Linked DNA regions of Homo sapiens: all the other regions are linked to region 2. The links are contacts of gene promoters, found by promoter capture Hi-C in human tissues and cell types (Jung and others, 2019). All regions are on one chromosome and are shown on one strand. The core of a region is centred on a gene start or on the middle of the fragment in contact, and the rest is flanking DNA. Distances in the headings are between cores, read along the strand shown. Region 1 overlaps SLMAP (sarcolemma associated protein). Region 2 holds the start of FLNB (filamin B). Region 3 has its middle 66 kb from the start of FLNB.

The links. The method cuts DNA at HindIII sites, captures the fragments that hold promoters and counts their contacts. A contact is called where the count stands out against the background at its distance.
Region 1: a fragment that was not itself captured here is called in contact with the fragment with the promoter of FLNB in region 2 in 2 of the 25 tissues and cell types used here (bladder and mesenchymal stem cells).
Region 3: a contact is called between a fragment that was not itself captured here and the fragment with the promoter of FLNB in region 2, in 3 of the 25 tissues and cell types used here (IMR-90 fibroblasts, hippocampus and pancreas).

Annotation. Positions count from the first base shown.
Region 1 is chr3:57,885,162-57,888,400 of GRCh38, reverse strand. All of the region lies in intron 14 of SLMAP (sarcolemma associated protein), which reads right to left. Among named protein-coding and RNA genes, the nearest start is that of FLNB, 120 kb to the left of the region's middle. The HindIII fragment of the contact is 6,777 bases long and covers 1-3,239 here.
Region 2 is chr3:58,006,359-58,009,707 of GRCh38, reverse strand. It overlaps FLNB (filamin B), which reads right to left and starts at 1,286. Exons shown (of 46, transcript NM_001457.4): 1 at 852-1,286. The coding sequence starts at 1,143. The HindIII fragment of the contact is 12,217 bases long and covers 1-3,349 here.
Region 3 is chr3:57,940,397-57,943,737 of GRCh38, reverse strand. It overlaps the pseudogene PPIAP16. Among named protein-coding and RNA genes, the nearest start is that of FLNB, 66 kb to the left of the region's middle. The HindIII fragment of the contact is 3,365 bases long and covers 1-3,294 here.

The sequences.
Region 1 (3,239 bases), core at 535-3,034, 120 kb after region 2:
CACCCGCCTCAGCCTCCCAAAGTGCTAGGATTACAGGCATGAGCCACTGCGCCTGGCCTATAATCAGTATTTATATTGAAAAATTATTTTATATAATGAGTCATATAGTATGCTATAATTATATTTCCTTTCTTGTATGGCCTTCGGTATACTCAGAATTTATAATGCTTCATTTTTTTGTTTTATTAATTTTTATATATCTCAAACATAGCCCAAGTTCTCACAGAACCATACAACTTTCAATATTGTCAAACACACCAAGTAATTTATCACATCATATATCCCCACCTTCCTCTTTCTGTTTTCTTATAACATATCCTCTTATAATTTCCTGAAAAGGGGTGGACAGAAGGTAAATACTTTGTGATTTTGCTTCTCTGAAAATGTTAGCATTCTACCTTCACATGTGATTGATGCTTTGACTAGATACACAAATCTACAGGAAATACTTTTGCATCAGAATTTTGAAAGCATTATTCCACTGTCTTCTAGCTTCCAACCAGAAGGTGAGTCTAATACAGCTTGAATCCTGTTCCTCAGTACACATAGTAGGGATTTCTTGCACTCAGTAATATCTGGTTTGCCTGTTCTGTTTGGGCATCAGGGAGGACTGCACATCCCAACTCCCTAGCACTGAGGAAGATTCATAGGACTGATGCTAGCCAGGGCCAAAGCATTTAAGAGAAAGTTTAAGTTTTTTACACCTTATCCCACCACAGGAACTCTAGAAGCTGTGTGTTGAGACAGCAACATCATAAGATAGTAAAGACTCCATCTGTCTAGATCTCTGAGTGACAATATGGAGCAGAGTGGTCTTCCTCACCATGGACATGTAGTGTGAATGAGAAATAAATGTTTGTTTAGTTGAGCCATTAAGATTTCATGGCTTGGCTGGGCATGGTGGCTCATGCCTGTAATGCCAGCACTTTGGGAGGCCGAGGTTGGCGGATCACCTGAGGTCAGGAGTTCGAGACCAGCCTGACCAACATGGAGAAACCCCAAAATTAGCTGGATGTGGTGGCGCATGTCTGTAATCCCAGCTACTCAGGAGGCTGAGGCAGGAGAACCGTTTGAACCCAGGAAGCGGAGATTGAGGTGAGCTGAGATGACACCATTGCACTTCAGCCTGGGCAACAAGAGTGAAACTCAAAAAAAAAAAAAAAAATCTCATGGCTTATTTATTACTATATTATAAATTTAGCTTATTATGACTATATGATATCCTTTGTTTCTCTCTAGAAGGTTTCGGAATCTTCTCTTTATTCCTGGTGCTCTTAAATTTCATATTCCTCAGTGTGTAGTCTCTTTTTTCTCTTTTTTTTCCTTAAATGAGGTGAAATTCACATAACATAAAACAACTATATGAACAATGCTGTAGAATTTAGTATATTCACTATGTTGTGCCTAGTTCCAAAACATTTTCATTACCCAACAAAAACCCTATACCCATTAAGCATTTATTCCCCACCTCCACCTCACCGGTCCCTGGCAGTCCCACATCTGCTTGCTATCTCTATGGATTTACCCGTTCTAGATATTTCATATAAATAAAACAATATAACACATGACATTCTGTGTCTGGCTTAGTGTGTGGTCATTTAAAATATATTGTGCTAAGTACTCGGTGCATTTTTTTTTTCAGTTTATAAGCTCGTATCTGTCACTTCTGGGGAATTATCTTGTATTCTACTTAATTGGTAAATTATTCCATTCTCTCTCTCCCCCTTATTCTCCCCCTCTGGAATTCATTATTAATATATTAGATCTCTAGGATTAAACCTCAAATTTTCTTTAATTTTCCCTCTTGAAAAAAAAAAAAACCTCTTGCCTTTTTCTTATATTTTCTGGGACATTTCCTCTACCTTCTCCTCAATCTTCCTACAGTTTTTAAAAATCTGGTATCATATTTTTAGCTTTCAAAAATTCTATTTGCATTTTGCTCCTTTAAAAAATACCATCTTTATCTTGCTTCATCCATAAAACTTCAAAAATTATACTTTTAAGCTGGGTGCAGTGGCTCATGCCTGTAATCCCAGCACATTGGGAGGCCAAAGTGGGTAGATAACCTGAGGTCAGGAGTTCGAGACCAGCCTGGCCAACATGGTGAAAACCCGGTTCTACTAAAAATACAAAAATTAGCCAGGTGGCGGGCACCTGTAATCCCAGCTACTCAGGAGGCTGAGGCAGGAGAATTGCTTCAACCTGGGTGGCAGAGGTTGCAGTGAGCTGAGATCATGCCACTGCACTCCAGCCTGGGCAACAGAGCGAGACTCCATCTCAAAAAAAAAAAAAAATTATATCTTTAAAAAAGTTTCTGCTTCTTGGGCGCATTGGCTCATGCCTGTAATTCCAGCACTTTGGGAGGCCAAGGTGGGTGGATCACGAGGTCAGGAGTTCGAGACCAGCCTGACCAACATGGTGAAACCCCGTCTCTACTAAAAATACAAAAATTAGCTGGGCATGGTGATGCACGCCTGTAATCCCAGCTACTCAGGAGGCTGAGGCAGAAGAATCGCTTGAATCTGGGAGGCAGAGTTTACAGTGAGCCAAGATCGCACCACTGCACTCCAGCCTGGGCGACAGAGCAAGACTCTGTCTCAAAAAAAAAAAAAAAAAAAAAAAAAAAAAAGAACCAAAAACCGAAAAGCAAAACAACAATAACAACAACAACAAAAACAAGATGGCCGGGCGCGGTAGCTCATGCCTGTAATCCCAGCACTTTGGGAGGCCCAGGCGGGCGGATCACCTGAGGTCGGGAGTTTGAGACCAGCCTGACCAACGTGGAGAAACCCTGTCTCTACTAAAAACACAAATTTAGCCAGTCGTGGTGGTGGGTGCCTGTAATCCCAGCTACTCGGTAGGCTGACGCAGGAGAATCGCTTGAACCCGGGTGGTGGAGGTTGTGGTGAGCCGAGATCGCACCACTGCACTCTAGCCTGGGCGACAGAACAAGACTCTGTCTCAAAAAAAAAAAAAACACAAAAACAACAACAACAAAACAAAACAAAACAACAACAACAACAAACAAGCTGGCTGGGTGCAGTGGCTCACGCCTGTAATCTCAGCACTTTGGGAGGCCAAGGCGGGCATCACCTGAGGTCGGGAGTTCGAGACCAGACTGACCAACATGGAGAAACCTTGTCTCTACTAAAAATACAAATTTAGCCGGGCGTGGTGGTGGGTGCCTATAATCCCAGCTACTCAGGAGGCTGAGGCAGGAGAATTGCTTGAACCTGGGT
Region 2 (3,349 bases), core at 37-2,536:
TGCTGACCTTGGACAGGTCAATTAACCCTCCGGACCCCCTTATCTGTAAAATGGGTCTAGCCTCACCCCAGATGGCAGGATGCGTAGGGACGGAGATAACTTAGAAGGCTGACGGTACACAGTGGACGCTAGTTGGGCTCCCTACAAGACAGCAATTACTGTTACCACCACCATCTCTAAATTATAACTTCGGCAGCAAGGAGTGGGTTCAACCTGCGGCGCGCGGCCAGAGCTGAGCTGGGAGCAGAGAGAGCGAGGACACACACCCGCGCCTACCCTTGCAACCTCGGGGCCCACACCCATTCCAGCGACGGCAGGGGAAGGTACCAGGTCTCTGTCTCCACCTGGGCAGGGAGGCCCCAGGCGCAGAGAACGGTTCCTCCTCAGGTCTCACGGCCCGGCCTCCGAGCCAACGCCCATTCAGCTGCCTCTGAGAGCACCAACCTGGGCGCAGCAGGGAGAGCACTCCGCGGAGCATCTGACCCTAGGGCCCGCCCCCGGGGACAGCGAACGAGGGTTTCTAGTCCCCTAGCTCCCATAGGGGCGCCCCAGGTGTAGAGAAATGCAACAACTCCACCTCTCCTCCTGTGACCCCAGCCCAAACCCTCAACCCTTAGCCAGCCAAAGGTGCACTGCTGGGGCGGATGGCGGGGAGCGATCACAACAGGTCCCATCCCAGGGGAAGACACCGGGGAGGGGGTCTAGGCCCCCTATAACCCACCCCTGGGGACGACTCCCCCTTATCTCCGAGGTGGGGGCGCGCTGCGGGAAATCCTCGCCCTCCGCAGGGGTGCACGCGCGGGGGCGGGTCGGCACCACAGTGGGCGCCTGGGCCCGGCCAGAGAACTCACCGATGGACACGAGCTTGATGCTCTCACGGTCCAGGAACTCGAGCGCCACGGACACATTCTCGAGCTGCATCTGGCGAAAGGTGGGCCGCTGATGGTACTTGCGGTACATGCGCTTCTGGCTGAGCACCTCGAGCAGCGCGATGAGCCGCAGCCCGTCGCTCAGGTCGGTCTGCAGGTTGCCGATGCGTTTGTTCACGCACTTGAGGTGCTCGTTGCACCAGCGTGTGAACGTGTTCTGCTGGATCTTCTTCCAAGGCGCGTCCTCAGCTAGATCCTTCTCGGTTACCGGCATCCTGGTGGCGGGGAGAGCGCAATGCGCAACGAGCTGCCGGGGACTGGTGTTTGGAGGCCCAAGGGCCGAAGGAGCGAGAACCGAAGCGGAGCGGGAGCGGGGTTCGAACTTGCTGCTACCGGAGCCACGGCCGGTGCTGCTCTGCGGCCGCCCGCCCCTGGCCGCGCGAGGCGCCTGGCCCCGCGCCTGCGCGCTGAGCCGCCCCGCCCCCAAGCCCCGCCCCGTCCCGACCCTCCCGCGGGAGTTCCTGGGCCACGCTCGCCTCCTGCCGCCTGCCGCAGGCACTGCGCCCCACTGCGTCCTGGGACCCGCGCTCGAAGCCCACCACCCCAGCAGGATGTAGGGCTGCCTGAATCACCCGGTCAGCCCCGGGGTGGGGGGACCCGCGGGGGCTGGGAGCCGGACAGAATGGGTCGGGCCTCAGTGGGACTTGCGGGAGGGGCGCGCGGGGCGGAGGTCTTCATCCACATATAGATTGAATAAAATTCAGTAAGGGCTTTTATTGAGCTCCGCCTGTGTACCAGCCATTCTTCTCAGAGCCTGCTAACCAGTAGTAAATCAGACAAACGTATTGCACAACCTCAAGGAGTTCACACAGCCTAATGGAAGAGAAAAGTGTAATTCCACCATAACCAACAGCCCAGTAGTGGTGGTAAAAATGAACAATAAGGCTTGTTGCATGTCTTAGTTTCCAGTTACTGCTGTAACAAGTTACCAAAACTTAGTGTCTTTGAAAACACACACCCACAAATGTATTATCCTTCAGTTCTGTAGGTTCGATGGCCCACACAGGTCTTGCTGAGCTAAAAACAAAGTGTTGGCAGGATGCATTCCCTTCTGGAGGCTGTAGGGAAGAATCTGTTTCCTTGTGTTTTCTAACTTCCAGAAGCTGCCTGCGCGCCTGACTCCTGCCCCTTTTCTCTGTGAAAGCCTGCAATGGGCTGGGCACAATGGCTCACACCTGTAATCCCAGCACTTTGGGAGGCCAAGGTGGGTGGATCACCTGAGGTCAGGAGTTCGAGACCAGCCTGGCCAACATGGTAAAACCCCATCTCTACTTAAAATACAAAAATTAGCCAGGTGTGGTGGCGCGTACCTGTAATCCCAGCTACTGGGAAGGCTGAGATAGGAGAATCGCTTGAACCTGGGAGGCAGAGGTTACAGTGAGCTGAGATGGTGCCATTGCACTCCAGCCTGGGCGACAGAGCAAAACTCCGTCTCAAAAAAAAAAAAAAAAAAAAAAAAAACAGAAAAGCAAGCCTGCAATGTCAGGTGGAGTCTCTCAGACCTCAGACAGTCCTCTCTCCATAGGCACATCTTCCTTTTTTTTTTTTTTCCTGCGATGGAGTCTTACTCCGTTGCCCAGGCTAGAGTCCAGTGGTGCAATCTCGGCTCACTGCAACCTCCTCCTCCTGGGTTCAAGCAATTCTCTTGCCTCAACCTCCTGAGTGGCTGGGATTACAGGCACCCGCCACCACGCTCCGCTAATTTTTGTATTTTTAATAGAGACGGGCTTTCACCATGTTGGCCAGGCTGGTCTTGAACTCCTGACCTCAAGCGATCCACCAGCCTCTGCCTCCCAAAGTGATGGGATTACAGGCATGAGCCACCTTGCCCAGCCTTTTTTTTGTCTCACTCCGTCTCCCAAACTGGAGTGCTATGACTCAATCTCGGCTCCCTGCAGCTTCAACCTCCCCACACCTGGCCCTTTTAAGGACTCTTAAGATGACATTGGGCCAGCTGGTTAGTCCAACATGATCTCCCTATTTTAAAATCAGCCGATTAAGAACCCTAATCCTGTTTGCAACCTTAATTCCCCTTTGCCATTTAAGGGAATGTTCACAGGTCCTGAGAGTTAGGATGTGAACGTCTTTGGGGGCTATTACTCTGCCTACCACAGCATACATTGAGCACTTACTCTGTACTCATCCAGGTTCTGTGCTAGGTTCTGAGATATGGCAGAGTCTCAGGCCAGCCCTCTGTTGATAAAAGCCTGAATAATTACAACAGCAAGCATTGAATGAACACCTGCTGTTCCTCTGTGCCAAGCACAGTGCAAAGCAATTTCTTTCAAGTCGGGTGCAGTGGCTCACACCTGTAATCCCAGCACCTTGGGAGGCCAAGGTGGGCAGATCACCTGAGGTCAGGAGTTCGAGACCAGCCTGACCAACATGAAAAAACCCTAGCTCTACTAAAAATACAAAAA
Region 3 (3,341 bases), core at 363-2,862, 66 kb after region 2:
ACCACTCATTCACACCTGACATGTTCCCACCTTCCCCTTGCAATGCCTTTCTGTTATATCCCCAATAAGCCCAAATCTTTCCAGTCCTTCGAGGCCCGCCTCCAATGTCTCATCCCCTTCCAGTTTCTCAGGCTGCTTTCTGGAGAAGTCATTTAATTCCGAGTCAATGCAAACCATCGATATAACTTGGTTGTTCAAACTTTTTTTTTGAGACAGGGTCTCCTGTTGCCCAGGCTGGAGTGCAGTAGTGTGACCATGGCTCACTGCAGCCTCAACCTCCCGGGCTCAAGTGATTCTCCTGCCTCAGCCGTCCAAGTAGCTGGGACTACAGGCATGTGCCACCACACCCAGCTCATTTTAAATTTTTTTGTACAGACAGGGTCTCATTATGTTGCCCAGGCTGATCTAGAACTTCTGGGCTCAAGCCATCCTCCTGCCTCAGCCTCCCAAAGTGTAAGATTACAGGTGTGAGCCACTGTGCCCGGCCACATGGGAGCCATTCTGGAAAGCCCTGAAGGCACTTGGCATGGAAGGCAAGCTTGTCACACGACAAGGACAGCTAAGGGAGCCAAGCTCATTGGGCCTTATGCCAGCTTGGAGAGGTACATTCCAGAGGAGTCTCATAAAAGCAGGAGTTGAGTTCTGGGTAGCACAGCAATTAGAACTAGGACCAATGCAGCTATGAAACACTAAAAAACAGATTTAGGAACACTTAACATTATGAAATGCTGCCATGTGCGGTGGCTTGCTACCAGTTTCAAGAGGGAGTCAGATGAAACTGGGGAAGTTGTATAAAGATTTGCTTTGGCTTAGATCAGACGCTCCTAAATGTCCAACCATTAGTGCAATCTCCAGTGGACTAGGGTGACCTGAGGAAAATAAGGCCATAGCCCTAAAGCTGGTCCATTTAAAGGACTTTTCCTTTCTTGATAACAGTCCATATGCAAAGGGCTCTGAAAACCAAGTTTTTTTTTTTTTTTTTTTTTGGTTTGGTATAAAAACTCATTTTGCAGAAAACTCTGACCTGAACTGACATAGTTATTTATAGCCTTTACTTATTCCACTTAGTTGAATATTCACATGGTTCACTGGAAATTTTGCATTTTACTATGAAGTGTTACATTCACCATATTAACCTTTCAAAAATGTAAATACATTGCAATTCCAAAATACATCTGGCCTCCAGGGTTTCATAAGAAACTGTGGATTAGGTGTATCCTTTTTTGTTGTTGCTGTTAGTTTTTATTTCATAATCATAAGCTTAACTCTGCAATCCAGCTAGGCATGAAAGGAATAAGGAGAACATGGAACCCAAAGGGAACTGCAGTGAAAGCTCAAAGATTCTAGGATACTGCGAGCAAATGGGGTGGAGGGGTGCTCCCCTGAGCTACAGAAGAAATGGTCTGGTGGTTAAGATAAAACACAAGTCAAACTTAGTAGAGCTGTCCACAGTTAGCAATGGTGATCTTCTTGCTGGTCTTGCCATTCCTGGACCCAAAGCGCTCCATGGCCTCCACAATATTCATGCCTTCACCATGCCAAAGGCCACATGCTTGCCATCCAACCACTCAGTCTTGGCAGGGCACATGAAAACTGGGAACCACTTGTGTTGGGTCCAGCATTTGCCATGGACAGGATGCCAGGACCTATATGCTTCAGGATGAAGTTCTTGCAATCAAATTTCTCCCTGTAGATGGATGTGCCACCAGTGTGGCATGTGAAGTCACCACCCTGACATACAAACCCTGGAATAATTCTGTGAAAGCAGGAACCCTTACACCCAAATCTTTTCTCTCCAGTGCTCAGAGCATGAAAGTTCTCTGTTGTCTTTGGAAACTTGTCTGCAAACAGCTCAAAGGAGATACGGCCCAAGGGCTTGTCGTTGACAGCAATATCGAAGACCATGGTGGGGTTGACCATGGCTGGTAATACGGGGCTCCCAGTGGCAGCAGCATCTGCAAACCTGGTGTATCCTATTTTTCAAGTATTGTAATGGCCTTTCTTTAATTAAATGGTGAGTTAATAGTAGCGTTTGGTATGTTTTTTACATTAAAAACTGTTATAGCTTAGTGATATGGTTTGAATACTGCTTGTTTGTCCCACCAAGTCATGGTGAAACCTGATCCCCAATGTGACAATGTTGGGAGGTGAAGCCTAGTGGGAGGTTCTTGGGTCACGGGGGTGGATCCTTCACGAATGGCTTGGTGCCTTTCTTGCCATAGTGATTGAGTTCTTGCTCTGAGGAAACTGGATTAGTTCTCACAGGAATCAATTAGTTCTGGGGAGAGTGGGTTGTTATGAAGCCAGGGCGTGCCTTGGGTTTTGCCTCTCTTTGCAGGTGTCTGCTTTCCCTTTGACCTTCATGTTGTGACCTAGCATGTGGCCCTCACCAGAAGCAAGAATATGCTGGTGCCATGCTCCTTGGACTTCCCAGCCTGCAGAACTGTGAGCTAAATAAACCTCTTTTCTTTCTTTCTTTTTTTTTTTTTTTGAGACGGAGTCTAGCTCTGTTGCCCAGGCTGGAGTGCAGTGGTGTGATCTCTGCTCTCTGCAAGCTCCGCCTCCCAGGTTCACGCCATTCTCCTGCCTCAGCCTCCCGAGTAGCTGGGACTACAGACGCCTGCCACCACACCCGGCTAATTTTTTTTTGTATTTTTAGTAGAGACCGGGTTTCACCCTGTTAGTCAGGATGGTCTCGATCTCCTGACCTCGTGATCCACCTGCCTTGGCCTCCCAAAGTGCTGGGATTACAGGCGTGAGCCACGGCATCTGGCAATAAACCTCTTTATAAATTACTCAGTCCCAGGTATTCTGTTAAAGCAATACAAAATGGACTAAGACATTCAGTAAAATAAAACGTTTGGCAACCCTGAGTCTAGCTCCAAAATTTCTGGAACATTTTATTGGTCTGTGAAGTCCAACCCCAGCATAAGGCACCTCTAGTGCTTTAGAATTCTAGGCTTAATTAGACCAGAGGTTGCCAGTTGGTAGCTCCACTGACCAAACTGGGCCTGCAGGTGTGCTTTGCTTGCCTCACACAGGGCCTTCTTCCCCCTTTTTAATCTGGAAAGTGAACATAAAGTCCAGTTTCCAGTTTCTGGTTTTTTTTTTTGTTTGTTTGTTTGTTTGAGACAGACTCTCATTCTGTCACCCAGGCTGGAGTGCAGTGATGTGATCTCGGCTCACTGTAACCTCTGGCTTCTGGGTTCAAGTGATTCTCCTGCCTTGGCCTCCCGAGCAGCTGGGATCACAGACACGCGTCACCATGCCCAGCTAATTTTTTTTTGTTTGTTTGTATTTTTAATGGAGATGGGGTTTCGCCATGTTGGCCAGGCTGGTCT